Regions from separate parts of the Homo sapiens genome. Here region 2 is linked to region 1. Evidence: promoter capture Hi-C in 16 types of primary human blood cells and fetal thymus (Javierre and others, 2016). All regions are on one chromosome and are shown on one strand. The core of a region is centred on a gene start or on the middle of the fragment in contact, and the rest is flanking DNA. Distances in the headings are between cores, read along the strand shown.

The links. The method cuts DNA at HindIII sites, captures the fragments that hold promoters and counts their contacts. A CHiCAGO score of 5 or more calls a contact.
Region 2: the fragment with the promoter of IFNE here is called in contact with the fragment with the promoter of IFNA2 in region 1 in 11 of 17 cell types (total B cells, neutrophils, monocytes and 8 more); the score reaches 12.5 in total B cells.

Annotation. Positions count from the first base shown.
Region 1 is chr9:21,383,483-21,387,127 of GRCh38, reverse strand. IFNA2 (interferon alpha 2) reads left to right here and starts at 1,730. Exons shown (of 1, transcript NM_000605.4): 1 at 1,730-2,873. The coding sequence starts at 1,799. The coding sequence ends at 2,365. The HindIII fragment of the contact is 9,842 bases long and covers 1-3,645 here.
Region 2 is chr9:21,480,234-21,483,878 of GRCh38, reverse strand. It overlaps IFNE (interferon epsilon), which reads left to right and starts at 1,566. Exons shown (of 1, transcript NM_176891.5): 1 at 1,566-3,040. The coding sequence starts at 2,185. The coding sequence ends at 2,811. All of the region lies in intron 1 of MIR31HG (MIR31 host gene), which reads left to right. The HindIII fragment of the contact is 2,296 bases long and covers 1-1,819 here.

The DNA of each region.
Region 1 (3,645 bases), core at 481-2,980:
AAAAAGTGAAATAATATCAAACGTTTTCTCTCACCACAGACTAAGAAAAAAAGAAGTCCCAAATAAATACAATCTGAGATAAAAAAGGAGACATGACAACCAATACCACAAAAAATTAAAGGATCATTAGAAGATACTATGAAACTATATGCTAATAAATTGGAAAACCTGAACAAAATAGATAATTCCTAGAAACATACAACATACTGGTCTGTTCAGGTTTTGTATTTTTTCATAGTACCATGAAGAAATACAAGAATTGTTTCTAGAACCATTCTTGTATTTCTTCATGGTTTTTGTATTTCTTCATGGAACCATGAAGAAATACAAAATGTGAACAGGCCAATAACAAGTAATGAGACAGAAGCCATACTAAAAAGTATCCCAGAAAAGAACTCAGGATCTGATGGCTTCACTGATGAATTTTGCCAAATATTTAAAAAACTAATACCAATCCAACTCAAATTATTAAAAAAATAGAGGTGGACAGAATCTTTCCAAATGTATTCTATGAGGCCAGTGTTTTTTCTGATTGAATCTCCCATTATATTTTAATCACATATAAAACCAGAGAAAGACACATTAAAAAGAAAGAAAACTGTAGGCCAATATCTCTGATGAACATTGATGCAGAAATCCTCAACAACAAATTAGCAAACTGAATTCAAGAACACATTAAAACAATCATTCATCATGACCAAGTGGAATTTGTCCTAGAGATTCAAGTGTGGTTAGGTATGTGCAGATCAATGGGTTTAATGTTGTCCAATGAACATAATGTCCTCCAGCTCCATCCATGTTCTTGCAAATGACAGGATCTCATTCTTTTTTATGGCTAAGTAGTACTCCATTGTGTATAAGTGCCATATTTTCTTTATCCATTCATCTGTTAGACACCTAAGTTGCTTCCAAATCTTAGCTATTGTGAATAGTGCTGCAATAAACATGGGAGTGTAAATATTTTGTTGACATACTGATTTCATTTCCTTTGGATAAATACCCAGTAGTGGGATTGCTGGATCATATGGGGGAAAATGGAGATGGCTAACGGGCACAAAAATATAGTTAGAAAAAATGAATATGATTTAGTATTCGATAGCACAATAGGATGACTACTGTTAATGATAATTTATTATATATTATAAAATAACTAAAATAGTATAAATGGGATGTATGTAGCAGAGAGAAATGATAAATGTTTGAAGCATTGGATACTCCATTCACCCTGCTGTGATTATTATGAATTGTCTGCCTATATAAAAATATTTCACTTATTCCATAAACACAGACGCCTCTTATGTACCCACAAAAATCTATTTTCAAAAAAGTTGCTCTAAGAATATAGTTATCAAGTTAAGTAAAATGTCAATAGCCTTTTAATTTAATTTTTAATTGTTTTATCATTCTTTGCAATAATAAAACATTAACTTTATACTTTTTAATTTAATGTATAGAATAGAGATATACATAGGATATGTAAATAGATACACAGTGTATATGTGATTAAAATATAATGGGAGATTCAATCAGAAAAAAGTTTCTAAAAAGGCTCTGGGGTAAAAGAGGAAGGAAACAATAATGAAAAAAATGTGGTGAGAAAAACAGCTGAAAACCCATGTAAAGAGTGCATAAAGAAAGCAAAAAGAGAAGTAGAAAGTAACACAGGGGCATTTGGAAAATGTAAACGAGTATGTTCCCTATTTAAGGCTAGGCACAAAGCAAGGTCTTCAGAGAACCTGGAGCCTAAGGTTTAGGCTCACCCATTTCAACCAGTCTAGCAGCATCTGCAACATCTACAATGGCCTTGACCTTTGCTTTACTGGTGGCCCTCCTGGTGCTCAGCTGCAAGTCAAGCTGCTCTGTGGGCTGTGATCTGCCTCAAACCCACAGCCTGGGTAGCAGGAGGACCTTGATGCTCCTGGCACAGATGAGGAGAATCTCTCTTTTCTCCTGCTTGAAGGACAGACATGACTTTGGATTTCCCCAGGAGGAGTTTGGCAACCAGTTCCAAAAGGCTGAAACCATCCCTGTCCTCCATGAGATGATCCAGCAGATCTTCAATCTCTTCAGCACAAAGGACTCATCTGCTGCTTGGGATGAGACCCTCCTAGACAAATTCTACACTGAACTCTACCAGCAGCTGAATGACCTGGAAGCCTGTGTGATACAGGGGGTGGGGGTGACAGAGACTCCCCTGATGAAGGAGGACTCCATTCTGGCTGTGAGGAAATACTTCCAAAGAATCACTCTCTATCTGAAAGAGAAGAAATACAGCCCTTGTGCCTGGGAGGTTGTCAGAGCAGAAATCATGAGATCTTTTTCTTTGTCAACAAACTTGCAAGAAAGTTTAAGAAGTAAGGAATGAAAACTGGTTCAACATGGAAATGATTTTCATTGATTCGTATGCCAGCTCACCTTTTTATGATCTGCCATTTCAAAGACTCATGTTTCTGCTATGACCATGACACGATTTAAATCTTTTCAAATGTTTTTAGGAGTATTAATCAACATTGTATTCAGCTCTTAAGGCACTAGTCCCTTACAGAGGACCATGCTGACTGATCCATTATCTATTTAAATATTTTTAAAATATTATTTATTTAACTATTTATAAAACAACTTATTTTTGTTCATATTATGTCATGTGCACCTTTGCACAGTGGTTAATGTAATAAAATATGTTCTTTGTATTTGGTAAATTTATTTTGTGTTGTTCATTGAACTTTTGCTATGGAAACTTTTGTACTTGTTTATTCTTTAAAATGAAATTCCAAGCCTAATTGTGCAACCTGATTACAGAATAACTGGTACACTTCATTTATCCATCAATATTATATTCAAGATATAAGTAAAAATAAACTTTCTGTAAACCAGGTTGTATGTTGTACTCAAGATAACAAGGTGAACCTAACAAATACAATTCTGCTCTCTTGTGTATTTGATTTTTGTATGAAAAAAACTAAAAATGGTAATCATACTTAATTATCAGTTATGGTAAATGGTATGAAGAGAAGAAGGAACAACCGATGATTTCTCTCTGCAGAAGGTAGATTGAGGCATGTGAGGAAATAAAAATAAGACAGAGACATTCTCTTTAAATTGACTAGTATACATCTATTAGAAAATGTCCATTGCCAGTTAGATATATAAGTTTGCAATTTGCAAGGAATGCGATTGCTGGGGGTTTATATGTGATAAGAGAAAGCCAAGAAATGAAGGTCATGGTGTTGGGAGAGAGTGTAGAGAGAGAAAAAGTTTTAAACATGATTCTGAGGACCTTTCGCTTTTAAAGGGAGGGGAGAGAAAAGCCGCAAAGGAAACATCCACAGCCACAAAGGAATGGCTGTACATTAGAAGGCAACAGCAGAGAAAGATAATGAAAGTGTATTTAGGAAGATAAATGCTTCAGCCCAGGAGTTCAAGGCTGCAGTGAGCCATGATCACAATACTGTACTCGAGCCTGGGAGACAGAGGGAGAGTGACCCCATCTCAAAATAACAAACAAACAAAAGGAAATAAATGTGCCGAGAAGAGGATTCAGTCGATTTGCCCAAGGTGTGGCTTGAAACTGCCTACTAATTGGGAAATAGATGGCATTGGCACCCTTAGTGAGAACTGATTGGGTAAAGTTAATACACAGAAGCC
Region 2 (3,645 bases), core at 317-2,816, 97 kb before region 1:
TTGATAGTTGATAGAACAAATAGACCATCAGAAAGGATACAGAAAATTTCAAACACTTTCAATCAGCTTAACCTATTTGACATTTATAAAACAGTCCAACCAACAAAAGTAGAACATTATTATTTCAAGTTCACAAGGAACTGTCACCAAGATAAACCATATTCTAAGCCATAAAATAAGTCTCAATAAATTTAAACTACATTCTTTAACCACAACAGATTCAAATATGAAATCAGTAACAGAAAGGCATCTGGAAAATCCCTGATCATTTGGAAATTAAACAACATTTAGATCATTTTTGTCAATTGAATGAAAATGATGAGAAAGCCTTATAGATCAGAGCTCGTTGTTATTAGATGGAGTAACTTCTGATATTCTTAATTTATTTTTATATTGTTTTCCCGAAGCTCAGCATTAAATATTTAAAGATTTTTTGAGACTAGTCAAAATTCTACTTTCCAGATAGATTGAGCATAATGTTATGAAACAAGTGTTATTCCTTTCGTATATTATATATTATCATATGTCTTTTCTCTCTCTTTCTCTTTCTCTCTCTCTCTCTCTCTCTCTCTCTCTCTCAGATAGGGAGGGAAAAGACCCTCTGTGGAGCATGCTGACTGAGTTTATTTCAACTTATTAATACTAGACTAAGTGACCAAACATACAGCTGAGCTGGTATATAATGAGACCATACATGTTTACAGAGTGCCTGTTTTTGACATTTAGGGATTCACCCAGCTGCCTGCAGAGAAATGATTAAAGATAAGACTCAACATCTTGTATTACTTTGTGTAGAACATATTAATTTATTCCAAGTCAACACATATTTATTAAGCAACTACTATAGTTGTATAGACAGCAAAGAAATCAGTAATCAGTGTTTATTTCACACTCTGAAGAGACTTTTAATCATGTAAGTACATAGTCAAGTATAAGACAGAACAAGAAAGGTGTCTTAAATAAGGTAGGTACAAAGTGTTGTGGGGATCCAGAAGATTATGGCTCCTTGGGGGAGATCTGGGCCTTAAAGGACAAGTAGTCTTTAGTCCTTGCACAGAAAGGTTCTTGAGGTAAAGGAGGCAACAGTTGATGTTTCAGAGAAAGCATCATCAATAAACACACACACACACAAGTGCTAGCTGTATTAAGGGAATACTAAATCACTTACTTTATCTGGAGTTCAGATTCCTTCACACTATATTTAGAGCAACAGTGGGATAAGATTGGAAAGGTATATTGGGGGCTTATTCAAGAGGAACTTAGAATATGGAACTGGGTATTTGTAATTCAAAGGACATTGTTAATGTAGAGATGTTCACATTAGTTTACCAGAGCTATCACTATTCTAGGGAATATACGCTAACCAAATGCCCCCAATCTCTCTTCACATATAATTTTGTCATCTATAATGGATATATATCATTTAATTATATGGCTGTACCAACATATATGTAATCATTCACCTGTCGTTGAACCTATAGGTTGTTTCTAATATTCTGCTTTGCAATAATATTATAACACTCTTCTTTTGCTAATTTTTTTGCATTGCTTCTATAGGCTAGAATCTTAGATATTAAACTGATAGGATAAGATATAAAATAATTTAAGATTGCTGATATATGTTTTAAAATTAATTATTTGCTCAAGCATTTGTGACAATTTACAGTTCTAATTGAGGTTTTAAATTTAGTAGTTTGTAGGTATTTTAAGTTTTGCCCCTGAATTCTTTATAGGTGCTGATAAGCCTTTGGTAAGTTTTACTCCATGAAAGACTATTACTGAAAAAAACGTAATCTCAATAAAAGAACTTTAATAAGCTTGACTAAATATTTAGAAAGCACATTGTGTTCAGTGAAACTTTGTATATAATGAATAGAATAATAAAAGATTATGTTGGATGACTAGTCTGTAATTGCCTCAAGGAAAGCATACAATGAATAAGTTATTTTGGTACTTCCTCAAAATAGCCAACACAATAGGGAAATGGAGAAAATGTACTCTGAACACCATGAAAAGGGAACCTGAAAATCTAATGTGTAAACTTGGAGAAATGACATTAGAAAACGAAAGCAACAAAAGAGAACACTCTCCAAAATAATCTGAGATGCATGAAAGGCAAACATTCACTAGAGCTGGAATTTCCCTAAGTCTATGCAGGGATAAGTAGCATATTTGACCTTCACCATGATTATCAAGCACTTCTTTGGAACTGTGTTGGTGCTGCTGGCCTCTACCACTATCTTCTCTCTAGATTTGAAACTGATTATCTTCCAGCAAAGACAAGTGAATCAAGAAAGTTTAAAACTCTTGAATAAGTTGCAAACCTTGTCAATTCAGCAGTGTCTACCACACAGGAAAAACTTTCTGCTTCCTCAGAAGTCTTTGAGTCCTCAGCAGTACCAAAAAGGACACACTCTGGCCATTCTCCATGAGATGCTTCAGCAGATCTTCAGCCTCTTCAGGGCAAATATTTCTCTGGATGGTTGGGAGGAAAACCACACGGAGAAATTCCTCATTCAACTTCATCAACAGCTAGAATACCTAGAAGCACTCATGGGACTGGAAGCAGAGAAGCTAAGTGGTACTTTGGGTAGTGATAACCTTAGATTACAAGTTAAAATGTACTTCCGAAGGATCCATGATTACCTGGAAAACCAGGACTACAGCACCTGTGCCTGGGCCATTGTCCAAGTAGAAATCAGCCGATGTCTGTTCTTTGTGTTCAGTCTCACAGAAAAACTGAGCAAACAAGGAAGACCCTTGAACGACATGAAGCAAGAGCTTACTACAGAGTTTAGAAGCCCGAGGTAGGTGGAGGGACTAGAGGACTTCTCCAGACATGATTCTTCATAGAGTGGTAATACAATTTATAGTACAATCACATTGCTTTGATTTTGTGTATATATATATTTATCTGTGTTTTAAGATTGTGCATATTGACCACAATTGTTTTTATTTTGTAATGTGGCTTTATATATTCTATCCATTTTAAATTGTTTGTATGTCAAAATAAATTCATTAATATGGTTGATTCTTCAAATGGGTGTATTTTCATACAGGCTGGCTGGGTAGATACAATAAAATATGCCACTAATGTAAAAATACTTTCCTTAACATAGAACTCCATTGCAATGATTTGCTTATTTGCCAGAAATTGCTAGAGACAATGAGAAATATTGGGAATAATTTGCATTTTAAGATTTGAAAATATTATTACACAGTGAATATTTACATTACAGGAGACACAATAGAAATATGGTGAAAGGACATGAACAGTTTGCAGAGAAAAAAAACTACATTAAAAGAGGTTCAATCTCACTCATGATAATAGAAATACAAATTAAATAGCATGCATGCCATTTATAGTACAACCACTATGGAGGCAATTAGGTGATATCTATTACAGATGCATGTAGCCTTTCATCTATAAATTCTAGGCCTGGAAATGTGTCCTATAAAAATACTTGCCCACAGCTGGGCGTGGTGGCTCAGGCCTGTAATCCTAGCACTTTGGGAGGCTGAGGAGGGTGGATCACAAGGTCAGGAGTTCGAGACCAGCCTGGCCAATATGGTGAAACCCTGTCTCTACTAAAAATACAAAAATTAGCCGGGCATGGTGGCGGGCACCTGTAGTCCCAGCTACTC